Regions from separate parts of the Homo sapiens genome. Here all the other regions are linked to region 1. The links are contacts of gene promoters, found by promoter capture Hi-C in blood cells and fetal thymus (Javierre and others, 2016). All regions are on one chromosome and are shown on one strand. The core of a region is centred on a gene start or on the middle of the fragment in contact, and the rest is flanking DNA. Distances in the headings are between cores, read along the strand shown.

What was found. The method cuts DNA at HindIII sites, captures the fragments that hold promoters and counts their contacts. A CHiCAGO score of 5 or more calls a contact.
Region 2: a contact is called between a fragment that was not itself captured here and the fragment with the promoter of NCAM2 in region 1, in 2 of 17 cell types (total B cells and naive B cells). The highest score is 16.8, in total B cells.
Region 3: a contact is called between a fragment that was not itself captured here and the fragment with the promoter of NCAM2 in region 1, in 2 of 17 cell types (total B cells and naive B cells). The highest score is 9.6, in total B cells.
Region 4: a fragment that was not itself captured here is called in contact with the fragment with the promoter of NCAM2 in region 1 in 2 of 17 cell types (total B cells and naive B cells); the score reaches 7.1 in total B cells.

Annotation. Positions count from the first base shown.
Region 1 is chr21:20,997,032-20,999,940 of GRCh38, reverse strand. NCAM2 (neural cell adhesion molecule 2) reads right to left here and starts at 1,532. Exons shown (of 18, transcript NM_004540.5): 1 at 1,323-1,532. The coding sequence starts at 1,377. The HindIII fragment of the contact is 4,236 bases long and covers 603-2,909 here.
Region 2 is chr21:24,079,664-24,082,572 of GRCh38, reverse strand. No RefSeq gene overlaps it. Among named protein-coding and RNA genes, the nearest start is that of LINC01689, 240 kb to the left of the region's middle. The HindIII fragment of the contact is 5,024 bases long and covers 1-2,909 here.
Region 3 is chr21:24,058,208-24,061,116 of GRCh38, reverse strand. No RefSeq gene overlaps it. Among named protein-coding and RNA genes, the nearest start is that of LINC01689, 260 kb to the left of the region's middle. The HindIII fragment of the contact is 853 bases long and covers 1,021-1,873 here.
Region 4 is chr21:24,040,010-24,042,918 of GRCh38, reverse strand. No RefSeq gene overlaps it. Among named protein-coding and RNA genes, the nearest start is that of LINC01689, 280 kb to the left of the region's middle. The HindIII fragment of the contact is 4,421 bases long and covers 1-2,909 here.

The DNA.
Region 1 (2,909 bases), core at 283-2,782:
AAATCTGCATCCAATCGTGTTTCATCCGCCACTAACACTATAGCTGTGGGGAGGAGAAGGGCAGAAAAAGGAAGGCTTCACATCCAAAATGTCAAGCCCTGCTGAAGAATGATAGAAGGACTCTGTGGAAGAGCAGAAACCAACTTCTGGGCTTAAAATGGAGTTCTACCACCCCCTGCTGGACCAAACGAGCAATACAGAAGAGGCTAAAAATGCTTAGAACTGAATATCTTGGGGATATTTTAACTTGTCTTGTAATTTATTATATTATTTTAAAAAACCAATTTCACACTACACTAACAACATAACATTCTTTGCAATCATTACATATCTCAAAATTAGTGCTATTTTATTTTTCCTTTAAAGACTTTCACCAATGCATGTTTTAGCATTTTGTGTCCCTAATTAAACGTCCAAACTTGTCTGGACAGTTGAAAATGCTTCCATTTATTGTAAATATATTTCATGTGAGTGTTTACTATCTAAACAGCCAGATAAATTCATATCTATCTCTCTAGAGACAAACAGTGATAGCTTCCACAAATTCCCTCTCAGGTTATTCTACCAGGCTATTCATTTTTTTTTTTTAAGAGATAAAAGCTTCCACCAGTTCTCCCACAACCCCAAAAATCCTCTACAGGTGTAATTACAATGTAATGTTATAAAATGATTCCACCTTTCTGTATTAATAAGGGGTTGGGGTCAAAATGAATGACTGCAACACATCCCTAGTTTTATCCATTTGCTTTCTTACACACAATATCCACGGCCCCTCTCTTAGTTTCCAACAGAAATAAGCCATCATCATTCACTTCATAGTCAGGAATTAGGGTTTTGGGAAAGGGGTGGAAAAAAAAAAGAGTCTCCAAGAATCGAACGTCTTGCACACAGCAGATATTTTGCAAATGAGTTTAACACTGATAGTTTTTGCTGCTTCTGTAAAACACCATCGTGCCCTTTCCTTCCGCAACCTCAGATATTTCACTGTTAACACACTCATCCAATTTCTGATAATAAAAATAAGAGAAAGCCATAATCCCAGAGGAAAAAAAAAGAAGAAGAAGAAGCGGTTTCCCTGGATATCCTGCTCACCGATTCCCCTCTCCAATTCTGTATTTTCCCTTCTCTTATTTAAGGGTCTCCACACAACAGATACAATTTTAGGGACAGCTAGGAGAAAGAACGAAAATAATAATAACAACAACAGCAATAACTGTAACTTTAGTTCTTTCATTTCATTCTTCCTGCGCCTCCCTCTTTGCCTCTCTTGGCCGGGTGGAAGGGGGAGGGAAAGTAAATGCAATAAAGCGCCACACTCCTACCTTGCCCGCTACTGACAAGCAACCCCAGCAGGTAGAAGGAGAGGAGGAGGCTCATGTTCAGGACGTGACACCGGTGGACAGTTTCAAAGTTATTAAGTCCAGCCCTGGAGAGAGAACCTTTCGCTGCCCCGGCCGCCTCTGCTAGAGCCGCCGCCGCCGCTCCCGCGGTGCCCCAGCCGCCCGCAGCCCGCGCGCTCCTCCTCGCAAAGTGACTGCAAGCTCCGCTCTTGCCGCACTATATCCAGGCAGCGGCGGCGGCAGCGGCGGCAGAAGCAGCAGCAGCAGCGGCCGCCGCGGCGGCAGCAGAGCCGGGCGGGGAGGGCGGCGGGGGCGGGGGCGCGGCGAGGGGAGGTGCGGCCGAGGCGTATCCCTCCGCGCTGCACGGCGGCCGCTCTTCCGCGAGGCGCGCGGTCCCGGGATTCGTCCGCAGTGGAGCTCGAAGTCACGGGTTCGGTCCCCGGTGCCTCCGCCTAGAGGGGCGGCCGCGATCGCGAAGGCGCCACTCGCCCGCCGGCCATCCGCAGGTTCATGCACGCCCTGAGCCGAGAAGGGCGTGGGGATGGGGGCAGCCTGGAGCTCCTTCACAGCCGCCGGCTGCCTCAGGACAGCTGAGCTGATGCTGAGCTGAGCTGAGCTGAGCTGATGCTCATGCAGATGCTGATGCTGATGCTGATGCTGATACTGATACTGCAGGCGACCGCCCCGAGCGCGCCCCGGCTCAACGTGAATGGGGGATCTGGAGGCGGGCGGTGTGCCCCGCAGCTTATTCCTTTTGGGCGTGGGAGGAGGGAGATTCTTGTCTCTCCGTGGACCTCCTTCTCCCTCTCTCGCTCAAACCTGGAGCAGGCTGGCCCCTTGCGCGGCTGTCCCCTTCCCACGCTCCCCACCCCGCCGCGACAGAGGGGAAGCAATTGTACCCTAAAGTCTACACTGTCTGTCTCCTCAGGCGCTAAAGGGTGGGCGGAAAAATAACGTACAGAGTGTTTCCTCTACATCTCGACCCATTGCTGTTGGGAGCGGCACCTTACGGGAGAGACACTGGAGAGGGGACGAGCCGCGGGAGGGGCTGCGTTCAACTCAGCCTTAGCCTCAGCTGTGTCCTTAGAGGCCTGAAGTCTCTCCTGGCCTCACTCCGCGGGCTCTGCCCTCGGTCCCAGTGCGCTGCACTGGCCAGATCCCCGCCAGGAGTGCACCGAGGGAGGACTGCAAATGTGCAAAGATGAGTTGGGTCGCGGGGGGGAGACCTTCCCCAGATCAGTGCCCTACCCCGAACACCCACGTACCCGCGTGTGCGAGTGTAAATTGAAGTGAGGGAGCCGTGGCAAACGCCCGGAACTAACTCTCTGCTCCTTAAGATTGGGGCTTATCGTTATTTCTCCTAGAAGGGTAGGAAAACGTTTGTGAGATTAACGTCACCTCTCCTGCAAGAGCGGTTAAGAGGCAGAATCACCGGCCCGGGTGCGGAGCCCATGTCAATCTGGCCTGGGGTTACCGCGACCTGCAAACGCTGACGATGGGTCCTTTCATCTGCACTTTCTCTCTGGCTCCTTAGAAAACTCAACTGCCTCGCCCCGGCCTCCACAAGGA
Region 2 (2,909 bases), core at 308-2,807, 3.1 Mb before region 1:
AATTATCTAGGCACTTACGATGTTATAAACTCAGAATTAAAAAGGAATGTTGGATGTGAATTCACTCATGCAATATCACCTAATGAAATATGAAGAAAACATTTCCTTCAGAGAATTTGAGCATGAAAGTCAAATAGTCGAATGAAAGTGAATGCAATATAAAGAGAAGTGGAGATTATTGGCTGCTGGGGTGGGTTCAAGGATGAATATATACATCAAAGAGTTTTTAAAAGCCCAAGGGGTTTTATATTGAAGATGAGTAATAAAAGTAAGAAGAGAAAGAAAAGGTGGTAAAACAGCGCCTAAGCATTTCAATATTTTTTTAATCTCTCAATGAGATTTCATACAGACTCCATGTACTTTATGATTTTCACAAAATAATCACCAAGGATTTGATGCTAACAAGTTTGAAAATTATTTTCTATAATGCTAAATTCAATAAATGGGGAAATATGTTTAAAAATGAAGAAAATTGAAAGAAGCTCCTTCAACATGGCAACATATAATCTAGTGCTTTCTAGATTTTAATATGTAAATTATGGTATGTGGGGATGGATGCTTTTCATGTCTATGAATAAGCACCATTTATATCAATAACCACCATTTATATCAATTTCAAAAAATAAAAATTCATTATTTTATTAACTTTCCTTTAACTAACAGGAAATAACTAAAAGGAGAGTAATTTCCCAATAAATTATTTTTTCCTTATAATTAGTCCTTTTGATTGCCAACTTAATTTTTAATATGATATAATCATATTTAAACTTGTTTTATTTGACAAGAATCATGTATTGGTTTACTTGGGCTGCCTTAACAAAGCACCACAAATCAAGCCACTTAACAGAAACTTATTGTCTCACAGTTTTGGAGTCTTGAAGTTCAAAATCAAGGTTTCATCAGGATTGGTTTCTCCTGAGAATGTGAGGACAAGACCCGTTCCAGTCCTCTATCCTTGACTTGTTCATGGCCATCTTCTCTCTGTGTCTTTTCATATTATCCTGCCTCTGGGTGTGTCTATCTCAGTGCCCAAATTTCCCCTTTTTATACCAGTCATTCCAATTACATTGTATTACGACACACCCTAATGATTTCATTTAAATTTGATTACATCTGTAAAAATGGTATCTTCAAATACAATCTGAGGTTCTCGGGATTAGGACTCCAACATCTCTTTGAGGGATGGAGTACATAATTCAGTGTGCGGCAAATAGTCTGCATGGAACATAGTGCTTGGCATTGTCTTTTTTTCTTATCAATGACCTAAATAATGTATGGTGCCAGTGGAAATTTTTACATATAAATTTTATGACATGATAGGCAAAATAGATACGTGGTAAAGTAGAAAATGGCATATTCATATCAATTTTTAAATTAACCTTATTTCTAATTTTAATAGTTATTTTTAGTCAAATGCTTTAAAGCAAACCCAAGTATCAAATAAGTGCAGATAATACTATTGGCAAATACTTGTATTATTTTACTGGTTTGTTATGTTATAATTAAATTAATGGAGTTTCTCAATATAAAAAATAATAACTATATTTAATTATAAAATTTAGTAAATCAGGATTTATATTATGCTTTGTGGTATATTTTCCTTTAAAAGAATAACATCAAGAAATTCTTTATATACACACACATACACACGTGTGTGTGTATATATGTTAATATATATAATGTATGTGTGCACACATGCATGCACACACACATATATACACATATATACATATACATGTATAATTTTTTTCTGGGAAAAAGTCAAGATTGATTTAAATTATTTCTTCTTCTGGCATATTTCTCCCACATATGCAAAGATTATTTATATTAATTATATTTTGGCTGCAATGTGTACTCTGTTAAAGAAAAATATTTTATCAGATGAGACCAGCAAACAGAAACTGATTTTATACTAATACTATTATGAGCAATAGCAGAAAGAGAGAGCACAATCCAAGTCTTAGTACTCAGCTCTGTTGAAATAGAGGGCCACAGAAGTCCTAAAAGTGAAGATGGGGGGGTCTTAGTCTTTCAGTGTTTGCTAATTGTCTTTATCCAAATGAAAATAAACTTTCTCCTATCTTCATGAAAGGATGCAATTTTACAACTTGGAGTAAAGTACCCACAGTAGTTAGGCTTCTACCTTCACGCAGAAACTGAGAGAGGAGTCTATCTTCCTTGATGATTAAGTTTCAGACATGGCTCCCAGGATCTTGGGAATGACAGTCCTGGGTTATAAAACAGGCAAGAGGCTTTTTAAAGGATTTACATCTCAAAGGAACAGAGAAAGAGTTTACAATTAGAGGTTTTCTAAGGTAAACTGCTCAAAAAAGGGAGTTCAGGGACCTAGAGGCAGGAAAAACTTGTCTAAAGTCTGGTCATAATTGGCCTTCATTGTTTTAAGGTATGTTTTGAAAGTTTTTATCATGAAAGATGTTAAATTTTATCAAATATTTTTTCAGCATCTATTGAAATGATCATATGGTTTCTGTCCCTGATTTTGCTGAGGTGATGTATCGCATTTCTTGATTTGCATAAGTTGAACCATCCTTGCATTCCTGAAATGAATCTCTTTTGATCACGAAGAACGATCTTTTTGACATGTTGTTGAACAGTTTGCTAACATTTTATCGAGCACTTTTGCATCTATGTTCATCAAATATATTGGCCTGTGGTTTTCTTTTTTAGCTATGCCTTTGTCTGGATTGGGTATGCTGGCCTCATAGAATGAATTTGAAAGTATTCTGTTCTTTTCAGATTTTGGAAATAGTTTAAGAATAGCTGATATCATTTCTTCCTTAAGTGTTTTGTAGAACTCAGCAATGAAGAAATCAGGTCCTGGACCTTTCTTTGATAGGAGAATTTTTCAGTACTGCTTCAATCTTATTACTCGTTATTGATATGTTCAA
Region 3 (2,909 bases), core at 198-2,697, 3.1 Mb before region 1:
TCTAATTTTTAATAAATAAAGCACATTACAGATAAATTTTGATTTTAATTTATTATTTTTAAATTTTATAATTTAATTATTTTTCAACTTTCCAAAGAAAATCATTATTATAAATCTAATAAATAAAATTATATAATTCTAGGATTATATACAAACCCATACTTCCCTAATTTGTAATCCTGGGTGAAAGAATTTTTCTTTCAAGATTTTATACATATACATGTATATGTACATATATAAACATGTTATATATTACATATATGCTATAAAATAGTGTTCAAAGGTTCTTATTGATATTTAAAAATTTTACATACATACATTGTTATATAAGTGATATGGTCTGGATTTGTGTGCCCTTCCAAATCTCATGTCAAATTGGAAGAGAGGTGGGAGGTGACTGGATCATGGGAGCAGATTTCCCCCTTGCTGTTCTCGTGATAGTGAGTGAGTTCTCATGAGATCTGATAGTTTAAAAGTGTGTGGCCGCCTCCTCTTTCTCTCTTTCTCTCTCCTGAAGCCATGTAAGATGTGCCTTGCTTCACCTTCGCTTTCTGCCATGATTGTAAGTTTTCTGAGACCTCCCCAGCCGTGGGGAGCTGTGAGTCAACTAAACCTCTCTTCTTTTTAAATTACCCAGTCTCAGGTAGTTCTTTATAGCAGTGTGAAAACAGACTAGCACAGTAAGTGAAGGACATTATTGAGGTTTATAAAAATAATATATTTATACATCTAATAGAAAAAATTTTTAACATATTTCTACTAATCATACTTGCACAGATTATATAATCATATTATAAAATATGATATGTAGTGTCGGACTGTATAGTATCAATACTTGTTTTCTACAGATTCTAATTAATAAGGGAAAGAGACCCAGCATCACATATGGACTGAATTACAGCATCAAGTTCATTGCATCAAAATCAAGGCTGCTATATCAGAGAAAAATAGCCTGTTCTGAAGCCAAAGTGAGGCTTTCAACTCCTTCTCCTCAATCTTCCATTAACATAGTAGAAAGCTTCCTACATTTTTTCCTGTGCTTCAACTTCGACTTTCTGACACAAAAGTAATTAGAAGTTCTCTTGTATGAAGATTTAGGGCTTATGAATAGATATATAGAACAGGTCCTGATTATTAATCTGTTTCTGTTTTATAGATTATAGAATAGAGGTGGTTATATGATGATGCTAAAGTGAAATAGAAACACTGGTTTATTTTCAGATATATTTTATTCAAAAAGACTTGTGAAATGGGATAAGTAGGTTAGTCAATGGCATACTATAGCTACACATAATAAGCAACAAACCTACAGACACAGAGTTTCTACAGGATCTTGATGACTATTTAAAATTAATCAGATATTTTGTTTTTACAAACTCAAAATATAAATTATAATAACATGTACTGAAATATATAATATTTATAACTTACTGCAATAAGTAGAAAATGAGTGATTTTGATGTTTTAAATGTAAACATTGAAAAATTAAATAAATTTGAATCAATATTCTTGATAAACATCGTACATTTTAAAAGTATGGAAGCATTTCCCATTATCCTACTTACAAGAGACCTAGGGAATTTCATGATATAGATTATTTCATCTCAAGTAAAATAGCATAATCATAAAGAAAAAGGCATATAGTCATAGGCAAAAGGAAAGGCTTAAGAAGTGATACAGTTTATTATTATGAAAACCCCCTGCATATCTTAAATTCCTTAGATTGTTCTGATTTGCATACCATTAAGCGGTACTACTTTTATAGAGATTTTGGGGAGAATAATGTCAAACAGTTTTATGGAATTATTCATTTGCCATAAGGTGAGACTGAAACACGCAATAGCATATAGCACTCATTATGTGGTTACAAGCTTGTTTCTTTGCTTTCTTGCATAGGGAGCCAGGTAAACAGGCAACCTTTTTACTATTTTGTCAATTATTAAATGTACTTAAGAATGTATGATAACAATATATTAAATATTTTGAAAGTTCAACTTATCGTCTATGAAGGTTTGGCCACTGAAAAACAAATAATCAGTGCATAAATACAACAAACTTATTTTAAATGTCATACCTCTGTAAATAATGGTATTTTCTTACATTCTGTCAAAACAGCTGTAACATTAATCTAATAAAAAGAATCAGATTGACACATTTGAGACATTTTCCTTTCTAATATATGACTGCTTGGGATTTAATACATGACTTAATTTAATGAAAATATCAGACTAACTGAAAGAAACCTGGGAGTGTAGAAATAGCAGAGCCACTCTTGCTATTTACCAACAAAGACATAAATTCTTAATACAGACATTCACCATAATGATTATAGAATTAAAGATAAGACATTACTCAAAAAAGGAAAGACGGCACAACATAAGGTATCAATTAAAAGCACAAAAATACAAAGCATCCCAGGAGGATACTAGCCATAGGAAGATATCAATGGGTTGTAAACATGGGCAGCATTGCTTCATCACTCTGACCACAGAATGGAGAAAAGACGAGAAAGGGAGCCAGAAAGGATATGGTCATATAAGTTAGAAAGCTATTATGTAGTTTTAGGTGAGATGATGTTCACTTGAGCTGGAGAGAGTATTGGTAGAAATGGGGAAAACTGGAGAAATTAGGGAAATATTTAGGTGATAAAATCAAAAGAACATGATGCCTCATTTCAGGAGAAGGAAATATGAAGTTTGCCACTTAGGTTTCTGGTTTGTGTTAATGAATGTGTGAAGTTAAAATTCACGAAAATAGTGAACATTGGATGAGCACCACAGTTTGGGAGGTGGTTGGGAAGTGGATGGGAAGGTGGAGATCGTGTGTTCGATTTTGTACAATTGACTTTGGGTATATTTACAGAATCACTAGGCAATGTAACCCCAGAGGTCACTATTCACATAGAACAT
Region 4 (2,909 bases), core at 144-2,643, 3.0 Mb before region 1:
AGATAATTCAGTTCCTGGATGTTTATGCTGATCAAAATCACCAGATTCTTGTTCAAACCTCTGCTTCTGTTTACCTGTGTAAACACAGAATGTATTATGTTGATGTAGTTTTATGGGAAGAAATTGCTAGAGCTTTGGAGAATAACTCAAGCGTTTTATCTGTGTTTGCACTAAACCTAAACTTGGATTGAATATCTTTCTATTTATCTATTTTGCTTAAAAAAAACTAGCAGGTCTGAGCCATCTCAAGAGAAACTGTGTTTTTCTTAAATGAACAGCATATACTTAGATTGGATGTTTTGTCTTAAAATATTCAATATTTCCTTATTTTAGGAGCAGAAACTAAGACTTAACAATGATTTAAAGCAAGAAATACTTTAGGTGTAAAAAATTCAAGCATGCAAGCAGTTCATTTTGCAAAATCCCTTCCAATTTTTCAGACAATCAATGCCTTTTTTGCCTGTTCATATAGATTTTTAAGGAGATTCTTACGAGAGCAAAATTAATTATGCATTTTCCCCTCTTTATCATCTTCCATTTCTTGCAGGGGTGTGGATTGGAAATTTTTTTTTTTTTTTTTTTAGACAGAGTCTTACTCTGTCGCCCAGGCTGGAGTGTAGTGGTGCAATCTCGGCTCACTGCAACTTCTGCCTCTGGGTTCAAGTGATTCTCATGCTTCAGCCCCCCCATCCCCAAGCAGCTTGGACTACAGGCATGCACCCCCATGCCCAGCTAATTTTTGTATTTTCAGTAGAGACAGGGTTTCACCATGTTGGTCAGGCTGATCTCAAACTCTGGACCTCAAAAGTGCTGGGATTACAGGTGTGAGCCACTACGCCCAGCCTGGAAATTTTCTTAAGACTACCTGCAACCTGCCCATTAGTATCTGTGGTATTCCTGATAGGTCATTCTGCCTTTTCAGAAGTCAGGAGATCGCAAGAGAAGAATCAGGAAATTTACTAGAAAATATTCAAGTTTGTGCTATTTGAAGGCTACAAATACAATCTCCTGGTCTGTCCACTGTTGGTCACTGGTAAAGAGATCAAGAGAGAGGATGGCAAATGTAGCACTGTTTCCCATAGTGTCATTGAGAATGCATTAAGTTTTCTAATTGTGAGTAATGACATGAGGCATTTTGCATGTAATATGCATGTTATAATTAAACCAAATCCTTACTATTATGTTTTCATCAGATAGAGTCCCGGCAGGAAATAGAGAGCCCATTGAAACTTGGCAAATTAAAGATAACTAAATAATGGGATTATTGTTGTAGATGTAGTCAGAGTTTAGGTGAGCCAGCAGGGAGTAGTACAGGGCTTCAGGCCTGCAACAGGAGGGAGACTTCACCAAGCCTATGATTGAAGGGTTGTGATTTGTTACAGTGTCCAGAAAGAGTAGCTGTCTGGACAGGTCTACCTCATAGGAGTTGGGGCTTTCTATAGAGGGATCCTGTTGCTCCAGGGTGAATCAATATGTGTCTCAGTCCATTCAGGCTTCTATAACAAAACAGCATAAACTGGGTGGCCTATACATCACAAAATCTATTTCTCAGAGTTCTAGAGCCTGAGAAGTACGAGATCAAGGAGGTGGCAGACGCAGTGTCTCATGAGGGTCAACTTTCTGGTCCATAGACAGTGCCTTCTTGCTGGACCCTCCCATGGTGGAAGGGGTAAGAGGTGTCTCTTAGGCTTCTAAGGCACTAATCCCGTTCATGAGGACTATACCATCATAACCTTATTACATTCCAAAAGCCCTACCTTCTGCCATGATTACACTGGGTGTTAGGATTTCAACATACAAATTTGTAGGTATACAAATATTCAGACCGTAGTCATAGTGAAGTAGTACTAACACCTCTTTTTCTTCTTAATTTCTGGATATCCTCCTGGGGTCACCTATTTGCCAAACCCAACAGCAAAACCAAAAATAAATCAACCCACTGCAGCAATTTATACAGTTTACATTTCTGAATACATAAAGCACATGACAGAGTAGATAATGAATATAAAAGGGTAAGCCAATGGCATCCATTACAGTCCCCAAGGCCTTCTGTGATCTGAACCATTCTTTGTTTCCACCATTTCTATTGCACGCCATTTTCTTAATGACTTACTTAATGACTTACTTTCCTCGGACGACCACAGCCTTCTTTCTCTTCCTACCAATGAAGCAAATGTATACCCTAGGGCCTTTCTATTATGTTTCATCTACCAGGAAAGGTCTTCTTTAGATCCTAGATTCCTAACCATTTAGGAACATTACAATCGTCACCTACTCATTGAGGCACTCCAGAACCACCCAATTAAAAACATCTTCCTCACAGAGTCACTTTTAACAAACTGTCTTTTTTATTTACCTCATAACAGATGCCACACCATACAATCTATCTTGGTCATTTATTTGTTGTTTTATCCACTTATGAGAATTTAGGTTTCTAGTCTAAGCACATTGTCTTTCTTGTTCATCACTGTATATTCAGTTTTTCAGAACAGTTCCTGATCCATATGTTATTTAGCTTATATACCCAGCTTACTTTCTCTTATAGATAGGAAACCTGTGGCACATGTGTGTCCAAGCTAGTAAGTGGTATGACACTAAAGTATAAGCTCAATTGTCCTTAACTCCTTTAAGAATCACCACTAAATTACACTACTTCCTAAAATCATAATTTGAAAGAGAGAACAGTTTTGCTTTGAAACTAGACTCATTAAAAACAAGTGTGTGGTTTACAGATACAAACATTTCCAAGTTAATGTTAGTTGTAGAGTGCAGAATTCAAAATATTAACTACATATGAGTAAGTCTATATAATGGTAGTTTTAGAATATACCTTTAGATTTTTAGTATTTTCCAATCTACTACATTATACTTAAAGAGCACTTTTGCTTTACATTGTTATTTATAGAGTT